Linked DNA regions of Homo sapiens: regions 1, 2 and 4 are each linked to region 3. Evidence: promoter capture Hi-C in 16 types of primary human blood cells and fetal thymus (Javierre and others, 2016). All regions are on one chromosome and are shown on one strand. The core of a region is centred on a gene start or on the middle of the fragment in contact, and the rest is flanking DNA. Distances in the headings are between cores, read along the strand shown.

Region 1 (2,860 bases), core at 62-2,561, 120 kb before region 3:
GCCAGGGCACTCTAAAATTTAACCTGAAAGACTGGTTCAGGCCATGATGGGAAGTTGGGGTTGCACATGCCTCACTATATCCCTCCAGCGTTAACATCAACACAGACCTTAAGTCTGATAGGAAACATTTACAATCTATTTTCTCTGAAACCTGCTATCCAGAGGCTTCATCTGCATGGTAAAAGCTTGATCTCCACAACCCCTTATCTTAACCAAGATATTCCTTTCTACTGATAATAACTCTTTCAACACATCACCAATCAGAATATGTTTAAATCTGGCCAGGCGCGGTGGCTGACACCTGTAATCCCAGCACTTTGGGAGGCCAAGACAGGCGGATCACATGAGGTCAGGAGTTCAATACTGGCCTGGCCAGCATGATGAAACCCTGTCTCTACTAAAAATACAAAAATTAGCTGGACGTGGTGGCACGCACCTGTAGTCCCAGCTATTCAGAAGGCCGAGGCACGAGAATCACCTGAATGCAGGAGGCGGGTATCACAGTGAGTCAAGATTGTGCCACTGCATTCCAACCTGGGCAACAGAGCAAGACTGTGTCTCTGAAAAAAAAAAAAAAAAATTGAATTTAGAGAAACTCTTCTGTAAATGGTTTTCAAACGTTAGATTTATTCAAAGTGAGAGTCACTAGAAGATTTTACTTACCCGTCTAATCTTTCCAGATCCTTCTGTCTTCCATCCCTATTCACCTGGGAGGAGGAGCTGAAGGTGCCCCACCCCCTTTTGCTCATTTCTTCGCCAAAAAATGCAAATTCTCTGACAACATGTAAACAGCCCAGGATCTGCTGCTAGTACAACCTGCATAAACCAAGTGCCTCTATTCCCTGACTGGGCAGGCCCCTACCCCAGTACTACCTCCATTCGATTGGACTCCAGTTCTGACTGAGGCCTCCATGTAGAGGCAGAGCTCAGTTTTGAAGGAGCCTCAATGTTGGGGGGACCTTCTTATTGAGGAAGCTGGAAGAGAGCTATTTTAGCTATCTTTTTCTTTTTTTATTTTTATTTTTAAATTTATTTTATCATTATTATTATTATTATTATTATTATTATTATTATTATTATTATTATTTGAGACAGAGTTTTACTCTTGTTGCCCAGGCTGGAGTGCATTGGTATGATCTCAGCTCACTGCACCCTCTGCCTCCCAGGTTCAAGCGATTCTCCTGCATCAGCCTCCCAAGTAGCTGGGATTATAGGCACCCACCACCACACCCGGCTAATTATGTATTTTTAGTAGAGATGAGGTTTCACCATGTTGGTCAGGCTGGTCTTGAACTCCTAACCTCAGGTAATCCATCTGCTTCAGCCTCCCAAAGTGCTGGTATTGCAGGCATAAGCCACCACGCCTGGCCATAGCTATCTTTTTCAAGTCCCCTTGTGGCAGGAAGGTGTCTATCCTGGTGCAGGCCCACAGGTGGACTCCCCTACAAGAGGCTGTCTTCACTCCCCAGCCTGCTGACCATGAGCCAAGGCCACCCAGGGTGGGGCAGAGAAAGAAGTGGGAAAGTCGGATATCCCATCCACCAACTTAGCCCAGCCAGCCCGAAACCAGAAAGCCCCATCAATGCTATCAGTTTCCCCTGCCTACGCCTGCTGGTGGCCTGGGTTTGAAACTCTGAGCAGGGCAGCTCAGGGCTTGTCCCAAGGTCAGGCAGGCCTGCGGATGAGCCCAGGCCCTGCCACCTTTGAACTGGTGATCTAGCAGGAGTCATACCACCTCTCCCCGCTGCAGTGTTCTCAGTTGTAAAATAATCGTAATAATATGCCTGCCATGATAGAGGAGGGGAGATTCCATGAGCTCTTCATTAGTGTCAGAGCTTGATGTTGAGCTGACACTTAATATGAACTATGTGACTTCATACTTCCCCTGCTCCGATGATCTGGCCCACACCTCTCTGCCTCTGCTTCCACTGCTCTGCCCTGCTCTCCCTGCTCCAACCACATTGAGCTTCTTGCTGTTCCTTGAATAAGAATGTGCCAGCCACTCTCTCATCTCAGGACTCTTGCACCGGCTGTTGTCCCAGTGTCCCCATGGCTCTATCTGTCACTTCCATCAGGACTTTGTTCAAACATCAGCTTCTCAGTATAGCCTTCTCTGACAACCCTACTTACAAATGTCTGCCCACTCCTTCCCTTTCCCTGCTTTATTTTCCTGTGGTGACTTAACACCATCTGATGCACTGGACCTGTTATCTTCTCCCCATGAGAATGTCCACTCCAGAGACAGATGTGACTGTGCCCCTGCACCCAGCAGAGGGCCCAGATAGAGTGGGGTGCAATAAACATTTGGTGAATAAATAAATGACTCATTCCAACATTGCTCATAGATTGCAATGGAATCTGTGATGCACAGGACTGGTTCTTGGCTGGAGAGAAGGCGAAGGGATTAAGGTAATGAAGGAAAGCTGCTCTATAGGAGATAAGCTTTGGAGCACAGTGAGGGGTGCAGATGGACAGGAGAGAAGAGAAAGGGTGGTTCGGGTGCAGGGCACAGACTAGGAAAAGGTCTGGTAACAGGACTGAACATGTGGTGTCTGGGGAGTGGGACAAAGCAGATGAGGACCAGGAGTAGGGCCAGACTGGAAGGGCACATGTAGGCAAGGTCCCTGGGGATCCGCCTCAAAGGGTCAGGAGGCACATGTCCCCTCCTAGGACTGAGATGAGCCAAAAGAGACCCCCCACAGATGGGGCTATTGCACTAGGCCCACCTGTTGTGGGAGTGACCCCACCTGTTGTGGGAGTGACCCCTGCAGAGTGCCCCTTTCCATGGAGTCCCATGGCAATTCTGGGCCTCAGTGGTACCCACTGTGGAACTAGTGTGCCCCTGTGGGTCAGCTTTCTC
Region 2 (2,846 bases), core at 70-2,569, 93 kb after region 3:
TGCTTGTGACAAGCTAGCAGAGCCAGACACCCAGAGGGCACTTGGCCAGCTGGACTCGGAGCTGAGGCATGAGGAGGCCCAGGCAGCACTGTGCAATCCACCCCATCCTCAGCCAGCCAGCAGTTGCACTTGCCAGCAGCCCCCACACACTGTCCCTGGGCCATGGTGGGAGAGCCAGGCTCCAGTCAGGGCCCCAGGAACTGGGGCCCACCCTCCCTTGCCTGGTGGTTTGAGAGATAGCTGAGGGCTTGGGGGCCAAGGACAGGCACCGATGCTGGGGCTACTGCAGGACCAAGTGCAGCTGCTGCGACTGTGGTATCACGAGAACTGCCGCGTGTTCCGGGACCGACTGGTGAATGAGGAGGACCGCAGCTGGTTCGACCAGCTCCTCAAGCGCTGCATGGAGCAGTGGGAGGTGACCTTCAACAAGGTCTGCCCCTTCCAGCCCATTCTTTACGGGGACTTCATGTCACCAGGCTCCGATGTCAAGTCCTACGAGCTCATCACCAGTGAGAGTAAGGTGAGGGGCCCAGGCAGGCGCCCTGCCCCTGGTGGGGTCCTCTTCAATCTGCCTCCCTGGGGCCCAGGCCCCCTGCAGTCACCACTAACAGACTACCACACTATAACCAGGGGGCCAGGACGCGGGGTAAGACAGCCAGCTCCAGGAGACTCCCGGCATGCCCTTGCTCTCTCTGGGTACCGGTTTCTTCACTTATCTCTGAAAACCAGCCTGTGGTCCAGCTGAGATGGGCTCTAGACACAGGGGCAATCATCCCTCCACAAGGGGCCGGGGGCGGGGCCTGGGGCCATGGGTCTCAGTCAGGACCCCAGGGAGGCAGGGAAGAGGCCTCACTTGGTGGCCCCAGTGCTGCATGGCTGAAGCAGGCCTCCTGACAGTTTCTCTCCACACGCATCCTCTCCTAATTCCAAGAGCTCCCACCAGGGTCACAGGGTCAGCACACCCTGGTAAGCCCCAGAAGGAGCAGGCAGGGCTCTGACCCAACTCTCAGGCCTCCATGTGTCCCTGGGTCAGGCCTCGTGCAGGGGGGCCTGGCTTCTTAAGGCCCAGCGTCCCCACCATGCACAGGAGGAACAGGGTATGCTGTGGCAGGTGAGCTCCCCGTCAGGGAGGGCCCCAGTACACGGTGCTCTGATCAGCCGAGCCCATGATTGGAGTCGCCCCAAAAGTGACAGCAAGCAAGTTCCTACAAGGGACTGCCCCCAAGCCATCCCTAGATTGGGCTGGTTGAGATTCCAAAGAAAGAAGCATTGAATTACAGGGTAATTAGTCCAGAGCATTTATTAGGGGAACTCACATACAGGGGAGAGCAGAGATGTTCTAGCTCAGTATGTGTGCAACAAGGGAGTCATATGAGTTATGGAGTTCACATGAGGACTGAAGGATTTGGGTGGGCTGGGGCTAGCTTCTATGTGTTTAACAATATGCTTGATCCCCCCGTGGGTTTTATTTTTGCTTTTGTTTTTGTTTGTGTGTGTGTGTATGTGACTGGGTCTTGCTCCATCACCTAGGCTGGAGGGCAGTGGCATGAACTTGGCTTACTGCAGCCTCTACCTCATGGGCTCTATCAGTCGTCCCACCTCAGCGTCCTGAGTAGCTGGGACCACAGGCACGCACCACCACGCCCAGCTAATTTTTATTTTTATTTTTTATTTTTTGGTAGAGGCAGAGTTTCGCCATGTTGCCCAGGCTGGTGTTGAACTCCTGGGCTCAAGTGATCCTCCCGCCTTGGCTTCCCACAGTGCTGGGATTACAGGCGTGAGCCACCGCGCTAGGCCAATCCCTCAGTGTTTTGAGCAACAATCTAAGCAAGTTTATCAGTGTCTGGGAATGTTCAGCTTGGGCTCGAGCCTGCAGGGGAAACATGCAGCTGGCCGGGTCACAGGTGGTCAAGGCACCTGTGCTTCTCAGTCAGGACAGAGAAGAAAGCGGGTGGGTGGGGGGAATCGGGGAGACCCTACAGTAAGAGAGACCCCGCCTTCCCCATCCTCGCCTTGGTGCACAGATGATGCAGGTGATAGAGGAGTACATAGAGGACTACAACCAGATCAACACGGCCAAGCTGAAGCTGGTCCTCTTCATGGACGCCATGAGCCACATCTGTCGCATCAGCCGCACCCTACGCCAGGCGCTGGGCAATGCACTCCTGCTGGGCGTGGGTGGCAGCGGCCGCAGCTCCCTCACAAGGCTCGCCTCGCACATGTGAGCGCCTCCAGGGCGTGCTGGGCAGTGGGCGGCCAGGGCTGGCTGGTCGGTTTGACTGACCCATGCTTTTGCACAGTGGTAGAGGCCTCGGGCAACCCTGAAGTAGGCCCGTGCAGCCTACAGGCTTCTGGAAAGACTAGTAGCAGGATCTGGGCTCCAGGGAGAGGCAGCAGCAGTGCCTGTGGTGCTGTAGGGAGGGAAGTGTGGTGCAGGCATCCCAGAGGGATTACTAGGGGAGGTGGCCAGGGCTGCTCTCAGAATCAGAGCTGGGAGGATGGAAGGGAAGGGCATTTGGACTGAGGGAACAACTTGGGCAAAGGTCTGAAGGCAAAAAAGCAGGTTCAGGGCCTGAAGGGTCTGCAGGTCTGCCCAGGATGGGAGCAGAATTCCAGGTGGTCAGGGTAGGGTGTGGTCACCCACCACCCTTCAGCGTCTGGCCCCAAGTCCCTGGCATGCTTCAACCCAAACTTCTGCCTCCAGGGCCGAGTACGAGTGCTTCCAGATTGAACTATCCAAGAACTACGGCATGTCCGAGTGGCGAGATGATGTGAAGAAGGTCCTGCTCAAGGCGGGCCTACAGAACCTACCCATCACCTTCCTCTTCTCAGACACCCAGGTGCCA
Region 3 (3,250 bases), core at 322-2,821:
CCAAGGGCGGTGGATCACAAGGTCAGGAGTTCGAGACCAGCCTGGCCAACATGGTGAAACTCTGTCTCTACTAAAAATACAAAAATTAGCTGGACGTGGTGGCGGGCGCCTGTAGTCCCAGCTATTCGGGAGGCTGAGGCAGGAGAATTGCTTGAACCTGGGAGGCGGAGGTTGCAGTGAGCCGACATCGTGCCCAGGCTGCAGTGCAGTGGCCGTGAGCTGAGACTGTGCCATTGCAGTCCAGCCTGGGTGACAGAGCAAGACTCCACCTCAAAACCAAGAGAAAGAAATGTGTTTTTGTTTGTTGGTTTTTTTTTGAGACAGGGGCCCAGGTTGGAGTGCAGTGGCGTGATCAAGGTTCACTGCAGCCTCTACCTCCCAGGCTCAGGTGATCCTCCCATCTCAGCCTCCTGAGTAGCTGGGACTACAGGAGCATGCCACCACACCTGGCTCTTTTTTTTTTGGTAGAGATAAGTTTCGCCATGTTCCCAGGCTGGTCTCGCATTCCTAGGCTCAAGCGATCCGCCCACCTTGGCCTCCCCAATGTTGGGATTACAGGCGTGAAACACTGCGCCCTGCCAAGAAACATGTTTCAATAAAATTGTTAGGAAATCAAGTGTGTGATTTGTGATGCAACTCTCTCCTCTATCTCCCTAAGAAAACATCAGTAAAAACAGTGAACTGTTTTGTATTTTTGGAGTCTGATCAGGACTCATCTTATGAATGTGGGAAGGCATCCAGCCAACACAGGGTAGGCCCCGGATGAGAGTAGGGACAGCGAGGTAGGCCCAGAGTCATTAGCGTTTACATGCCGCTTATGTGCTTGAGGATCGCAGAATGGAACTCTTGCTAAGCCAGAGCTGTATTTGGTGGCCCATGGTGGGAGAGGGAAGAACAATAATAAGTTGTGGAATAAAAGCCATGGAGAGGAGCGGGAATTACTTAATCTGGCTCCAGAAGGGGTGAGTTGTGGGGAAGTAGTGATTCTCAGTTCGTTTGCTCAGCCCAGTCAGTGCCTGACACTCAGGGTGCATCTGCTGACTGACCGTACAGGATAAAGGAAGGGAGAGGCCGGGTGCGGCGGCTGAAGTCTGTAATCCCATCACTTTCGGAGGCTGAGGTGGGTGGATCGCTTGAGGTTAGGCGTTCGAGACCAGCCTGGGCAACATGGCGAAAGCCCGTCTCTACTAAAAAATACAAAAATTAGCCCGGAGTGGTGGCACATGCCTGTAATCCCAGCTACTCGGGAGGCTGAGGCATGAGAATCGCTTGAATCCGGGAGGCGGAGGTTGCATTGGGCCGAAACCGCGACTCTGCACTCCAGTCTGGGCGACAGAATGAGACCCCGTCTCAAAAAAAAAATCGGCAATCGGTGAGGCGGGGATTATTACCCTCAATGTAGAGATTTAAAAAATGAGGACTGAAGGTGACTCCTTCCAGGTCTGTCAGTGGCCAGCAAAGAGCCAATATGCTAAACTCTCCCCTCCCGGACACCGGCTTCAGCCAGAGCTCGCACCCGCCTGCGCCGCTCCACCCACCCACACTTCCGGCTTCCGCTCCGCCCACCCCCTAGTACTTCCGTTCTCCAGCGCTGGGCACCGCGGCCGGAGCTGTGGGCTGGTAAGTCTGCGCCGCCAGGGCTCGCATGGCCTTCAGAAGCGGTCCCTGGGCTGGGCGATGACGGGTCCTGGTGGCAGCAGGCCCTTCTTTCTCGCATCACCGGGCATTACGCGGCAGCCATTTCCCTCGCTAAGGCCCTACCTTAGGATGACGTCACTTCCGGCCCCCTACTGTCTAGGGAAAGCCGGAAATGGTACCAGCCTTCTTTGATGGCGGGGAGGAGTCAAGACCGGTAGTCTTCCTATTTCCGTTGTTTTGCTCTGGAGCCTCCCGGAGTTTCGGAGAGACCGTGTCTTGGATAGAATTGGAGGACTTAGCAAATAAAAATGCAAAGCGTCCAGTTACATTTTTTTTGAGTTAGAATCTCACTCTGTCACCCAGGCTGGAGTGCAGTGGCGCGATCTCGGCTCACTGCAACCTCCGCCTCCCCTGTTCAAATGATTCTCATGCCTCAGTCTCCCGAGTAGCTGGGATTACGGGCGCCCACCACACCCGGCTAATTTTTGTATTTTTAGAAGAGACGGGGTTTCACCACGTTGGTCAGGCTGGTCTCGAACTCCTGACCTCAGGTGATGCGCCCGCCTCAGCCTTCCAAAGTGCTGGGATTACAGGCGTGAGCCACTGCGCCGGGCCACGTCCAGTTAAATTTGAGTTAAGATAAACGACGAATAATTGTTAAGTCCTAAACATTGTATGCACATACTTATACTTTAAAAATTACTTGTTTATTTGAAATTCAAATTTAACCGGAAGTCCTGTATTTTCTCTGGCAGCCTTAGCATTGAGCGTCCCCCTGTCCTGTGCTCATACCCAGTGGCAAGGCTGGGATCTTCTAGGCTCTTGTCCATCTGGGAAATAGATACAAATTTCATCCAGGCTATAAAGACCGGCTGTCTTAGTTGCTAAGATGCTTTTAGCTCCAAGTCCAATGGGCAAGCTCCAGGGGTCCCCCTGGCCAAAACTGGACCCATTTTCGGAATCCCCATGACGATGCCCTCTGTGTTCCCTTTCACAACAGAAGTCAGGCATGGCTGTCTTTTCTTACCGGAGAGCTGAGAACTAGGCAAGCAAAATGGTCAAAGTCTAGAAGTAACCACCATATTTGGGTGTGGGGTAAACCGGTGTTTGAGATCTGTGTTGCAGTGGACAGTATCAGAGAGCCTGAGGTTGTTAAGGGAAGAGCGTAGTGTTAATCTCACCCCATGTCTCATTTTGCGGATGAGGCCCAGTGAGAGAAATGGAGGTGTCCCAGCCACTCAGAAAGCCTATAGTAGAGCTGGAACCTCAATTCCCAGCCTCCTTACCCTGCTCAGTCCATACTTGCTGATGAAGTCAGCTTGCAACATTTATGGTAGGCATTTATTAAAGTAGATGCAATAGTACATATGTAGTACAGATGAGCTGTTTGGGTCTTTGTTGTTCCTATACCCCTCTACAGCTTCCTGACCTTCGCCCCAAGGCTTCTTTAGCTTTTACTCTGCCCAGTGGGGAAAATGGCTATGGGCTCAGTTATGGGAGCCTGGCCTTTGCCTACTTCAGCCCTTGGGCTCTCACCACTGTGGGTGGTGTGACCTAGGACTTGTTTTTGTTATCTTGGAACCAGAAGGCGTGTTCTTGGCAGGGTTGGGTC
Region 4 (3,224 bases), core at 605-3,104, 75 kb after region 3:
CCTGCAGGTGCTACCTGACACTGACCGGAGCTCTGCACCTCAAGTTTGGGGGTGCCCCAGCTGGCCCAGCTGGCACAGGCAAAACTGAGACCACCAAAGACCTGGGTAAGGCCTTGGCCATACAGACCGTTGTGTTCAACTGCTCTGACCAGCTCGACTTCATGGCCATGGGCAAGTTCTTCAAGGGCCTGGCCAGGTGAGGCTGGGCATGAGCGTGGCACAGGATGGGGTGGGACAGCCTAGCTCTCCTTGGGGAGGGCTAGGTGAGGGCAGTGCCTGAGAGGGGCCTCGAAGGATGGTGGAGGGGACAGAAGGGGGTAATAGGCATCACGGCTTGGTCCTGGGGGCATTGGGGTGGGGAGTGGCAGTGGGTTGAAGACTGAGCTGATGGAGATTGCCCCTGAGGGCTTCCTCCCAAGTGGAGTTGGAGGGGGCCCTCAGAGGGAGGTGCCCAGATTGGGCTCTGAACACATGTGCCCCATCCAATGTTCCGGCCTCACTCAGTGCTGGGGCCTGGGCCTGCTTCGACGAGTTCAATCGCATCGACATCGAGGTGCTGTCTGTGGTGGCGCAGCAGATCACCACCATCCAGAAGGCGCAGCAGCAGCGGGTGAGCCCGGGGGACCCACCTTACTCCCTCAGATCTGCCATACTCACGCCGCCATACTGCTCCCCATTGCAGGCTGAGAAGCCAGGCGCTAAGGTCCACCCTGGGTCCAGCCTCTCTTGTCCCGGGGGCACACCCTAACCCCAGTCTGTGGGCAGCTCCCAGGCCAAGCTGCGGGGGATGAAGGGGTCCCCTCCTCATTACATCCTGACCTTTATGGAAAGCCCCAGGCATTGGTCCTTTCTCTAGCCACGTGCAGGGCGGCCAGGGACCTTGTTCTGGGGACAGGAGCTGAGAGGCTAGCAGTTATCCCCTCCCCCACTTCCCCTAGTCAGGCTGAGCTTGGCTGGAGCTGGGGAATTGGGGGTGGAGCGAGTGGGAAGCAGGAGATGTGGAGACCTCCAAGGGCCTGAAGCCAGGAGCTGGAAGGCCATGGGTAGCCACTGGGGCCTGAGGTTTCAGGCCAGATCCTGAGAGAGGATACAACCCATGATCAGGGGTCCAGGCCTGGCCTACCAGCTACAGCCAGGACAGGGGCATCAACAGGGGACAAGGGGCCCACTCAGAGGAGGGGACAAGGCTGGGCACCCTAGTCCCAGGCAAGTCAGCCTCTCCCCACTGCAGGTGGAACGCTTCATGTTTGAGGGTGTGGAGATCCCACTGGTGCCATCCTGCGCAGTGTTTATCACCATGAACCCGGGCTACGCTGGCCGCACGGAGCTGCCTGACAATCTGAAGGCAAGTGCAGGCCCAGAGTGGCCCAGGAAGCACCAGAGCTCTAGCCTGAGTTCAGAGATGCTAAGCCACTTATGCAAGGACACAGTTGCTTGGACTCCAGGGACTGTGATTCCCTATGGTAGCCCCTTAGCCATGGAGGGGAGGCCTCAGGGCCTCAGACTTGTCCTCAGGGCATGGGAGAAGTCAGGCTGCCTATGGATGTGGTGTGGAGGGGGAATCTAATGAGACCTGTTCACCCTGGGCCTTCAGGAGAAACAGGAAAACAGGAGCCAAGAGGGGCATCTCCTGGGAGTCATGTGGGGGCAGGTTTGGATCAACACCAAGGATCCACTCTAATGGCAGAGCTACCAGTCTCAGGGGAGTGAAAGCCTCAGCTGTGGCAGGCTTGGTGCAGCAGGGAGTCCCAGCGTGTTAGGGAGGAGGGCCGGATGAAGCTGGGGGTGCTCTGGGGGTGAGCTCTGTTTGCTGTTCACATGTGCACTGTGTGTCCCAGGCGCTCTTCCGACCCGTGGCCATGATGGTTCCAGATTACGCCATGATCACTGAGATCTCCCTCTATTCCTTTGGCTTTAATGAGGCCAGTGTGCTGGCTAAGAAGATCACAACCACCTTCAAGCTGTCTTCTGAGCAGCTCAGCTCCCAGGTGTGGTCCTGCCCTGATGGGTTTCCAGGGTCTGAAAACTTCTGCCTGCTCCCAGCCTCCAGGGCACCTGCTGAGGGCCAGGCTCTATGCCCGGTGCTTTACAGGCATTACCTTGTCGGCTTCTCCCAGCAACCCTTGGAGATAGGAGTTACATGCCCATTTGTCAGCTGAGGACACCGAGGTCCTAGGTAGCTAAAGGTCTGGCCAGGCTCATGCAGTACACAGCAGCGCTGGAGCAGGAGCCAGGAACAGATGCCTGTGTGGCTACTTCAGGTGCAAGGGCCTTGATCATTAGGGCACCAAGAGCTTCAGAACCCCAGGCTGGGGAGCAAGTGCACCTGGGCCTTGTGGGGACCAGAGTAGGACAGCCAGGCCCTCCGAGCCTCCCAGCACCACCATCCTTCCACTCAGCTTGCTGAGCCCAGATTCCAAGGACAGATGGGGTGGCCCAGGCACCAGTGCTGGTGGATGAGCTTTCCTGTTCAGCTTGGTTCCCAAACAGGCCCCCACTTTGCAGCAGCAGAGACGAGTCCCACCTCTGGGCTGACATGCTAGCAACTTAGTTTGTCTTCCATCATGATTTCAGAAAAAAATCCCTGTTGTCACCCTAATGGGCCTTCTCTGGGTCACCTGCTCATCCATGAACACCAATCACTGTGGCCAGGGGTAATCAGTACTACCTTTGGCCAGATGCAGTCCACCAAAATCTATGAGCTAGAAGAGATGCAGCCTGTTACCAGGAAAAGCAGTGGCAGTTCATCACAGTGCACTCCTGGGTGCCGGCGCTCCCACACACCCTTCTTTCCAAAATGCTCCCCACCCCCAATCAGAGCAACTATCCCACATGGTTTTGGAAATGCACTCAACTCTTCCCAAATAGAAATGACCCAAAGTCAAGCCCAGCCTCTTCATGCAGCTCCAAGTCCGAGATTTCTGGAACATATGCTAGTCTATGGGTTGGGTCTAGATGGAGTCCTCTTGGTTGGGCACCATGGGGCAGAATGATTAATTTAACTATTTCCAACTCACTTACTGTGTAATGAAGAGAAACAGGCTGGGGGAAAAAGCATGGTGGTGTGGCCAGAAAGACGGGTCTGGAGAGATGTTATGGGAGAATGTTAGAAGGAAGCTCAAGGGCCATCAAGGCCAAGCTGATTGTTGCACAGATGGGAAACTCCTTCATTCACTTTTCCAGCACAACTAGAGGGCCCTCCTGCCCCTGGCCATGTGCTGGGA

What was found. The method cuts DNA at HindIII sites, captures the fragments that hold promoters and counts their contacts. A CHiCAGO score of 5 or more calls a contact.
Region 1: a contact is called between a fragment that was not itself captured here and the fragment with the promoter of GLYCTK in region 3, in 1 of 17 cell types (M2 macrophages). The highest score is 6.4, in M2 macrophages.
Region 2: a fragment that was not itself captured here is called in contact with the fragment with the promoter of GLYCTK in region 3 in 7 of 17 cell types (erythroblasts, M1 macrophages, endothelial precursors and 4 more); the score reaches 11.0 in erythroblasts.
Region 4: a contact is called between a fragment that was not itself captured here and the fragment with the promoter of GLYCTK in region 3, in 6 of 17 cell types (M1 macrophages, erythroblasts, endothelial precursors and 3 more). The highest score is 8.9, in M1 macrophages.

Annotation. Positions count from the first base shown.
Region 1 is chr3:52,169,382-52,172,241 of GRCh38, forward strand. No RefSeq gene overlaps it. Among named protein-coding and RNA genes, the nearest start is that of POC1A, 16 kb to the left of the region's middle. The HindIII fragment of the contact is 2,257 bases long and covers 184-2,440 here.
Region 2 is chr3:52,379,616-52,382,461 of GRCh38, forward strand. DNAH1 (dynein axonemal heavy chain 1) reads left to right here. Exons shown (of 78, transcript NM_015512.5): 48 at 290-520; 49 at 2,025-2,221; 50 at 2,705-2,840. Among named protein-coding and RNA genes, the nearest start is that of BAP1, 29 kb to the right of the region's middle. The HindIII fragment of the contact is 6,412 bases long and covers 1-2,846 here.
Region 3 is chr3:52,286,257-52,289,506 of GRCh38, forward strand. It overlaps GLYCTK (glycerate kinase), which reads left to right and starts at 1,572. Exons shown (of 5, transcript NM_145262.4): 1 at 1,572-1,620. GLYCTK-AS1 (GLYCTK antisense RNA 1) reads right to left here. Exons shown (of 1, transcript NR_046719.1): 1 at 2,324-3,250. LOC107986086 (a long non-coding RNA gene) reads right to left here and starts at 1,764. Exons shown (of 3, transcript XR_001740699.2): 1 at 1,577-1,764. RefSeq lists enhancers at 1,157-1,898, 1,204-2,403, 1,230-1,339. The HindIII fragment of the contact is 11,873 bases long and covers 1-3,250 here.
Region 4 is chr3:52,361,157-52,364,380 of GRCh38, forward strand. It overlaps DNAH1 (dynein axonemal heavy chain 1), which reads left to right. Exons shown (of 78, transcript NM_015512.5): 29 at 8-196; 30 at 505-610; 31 at 1,232-1,345; 32 at 1,839-1,988. Among named protein-coding and RNA genes, the nearest start is that of DNAH1, 46 kb to the left of the region's middle. RefSeq lists an enhancer at 1,135-1,688. The HindIII fragment of the contact is 7,102 bases long and covers 1-3,224 here.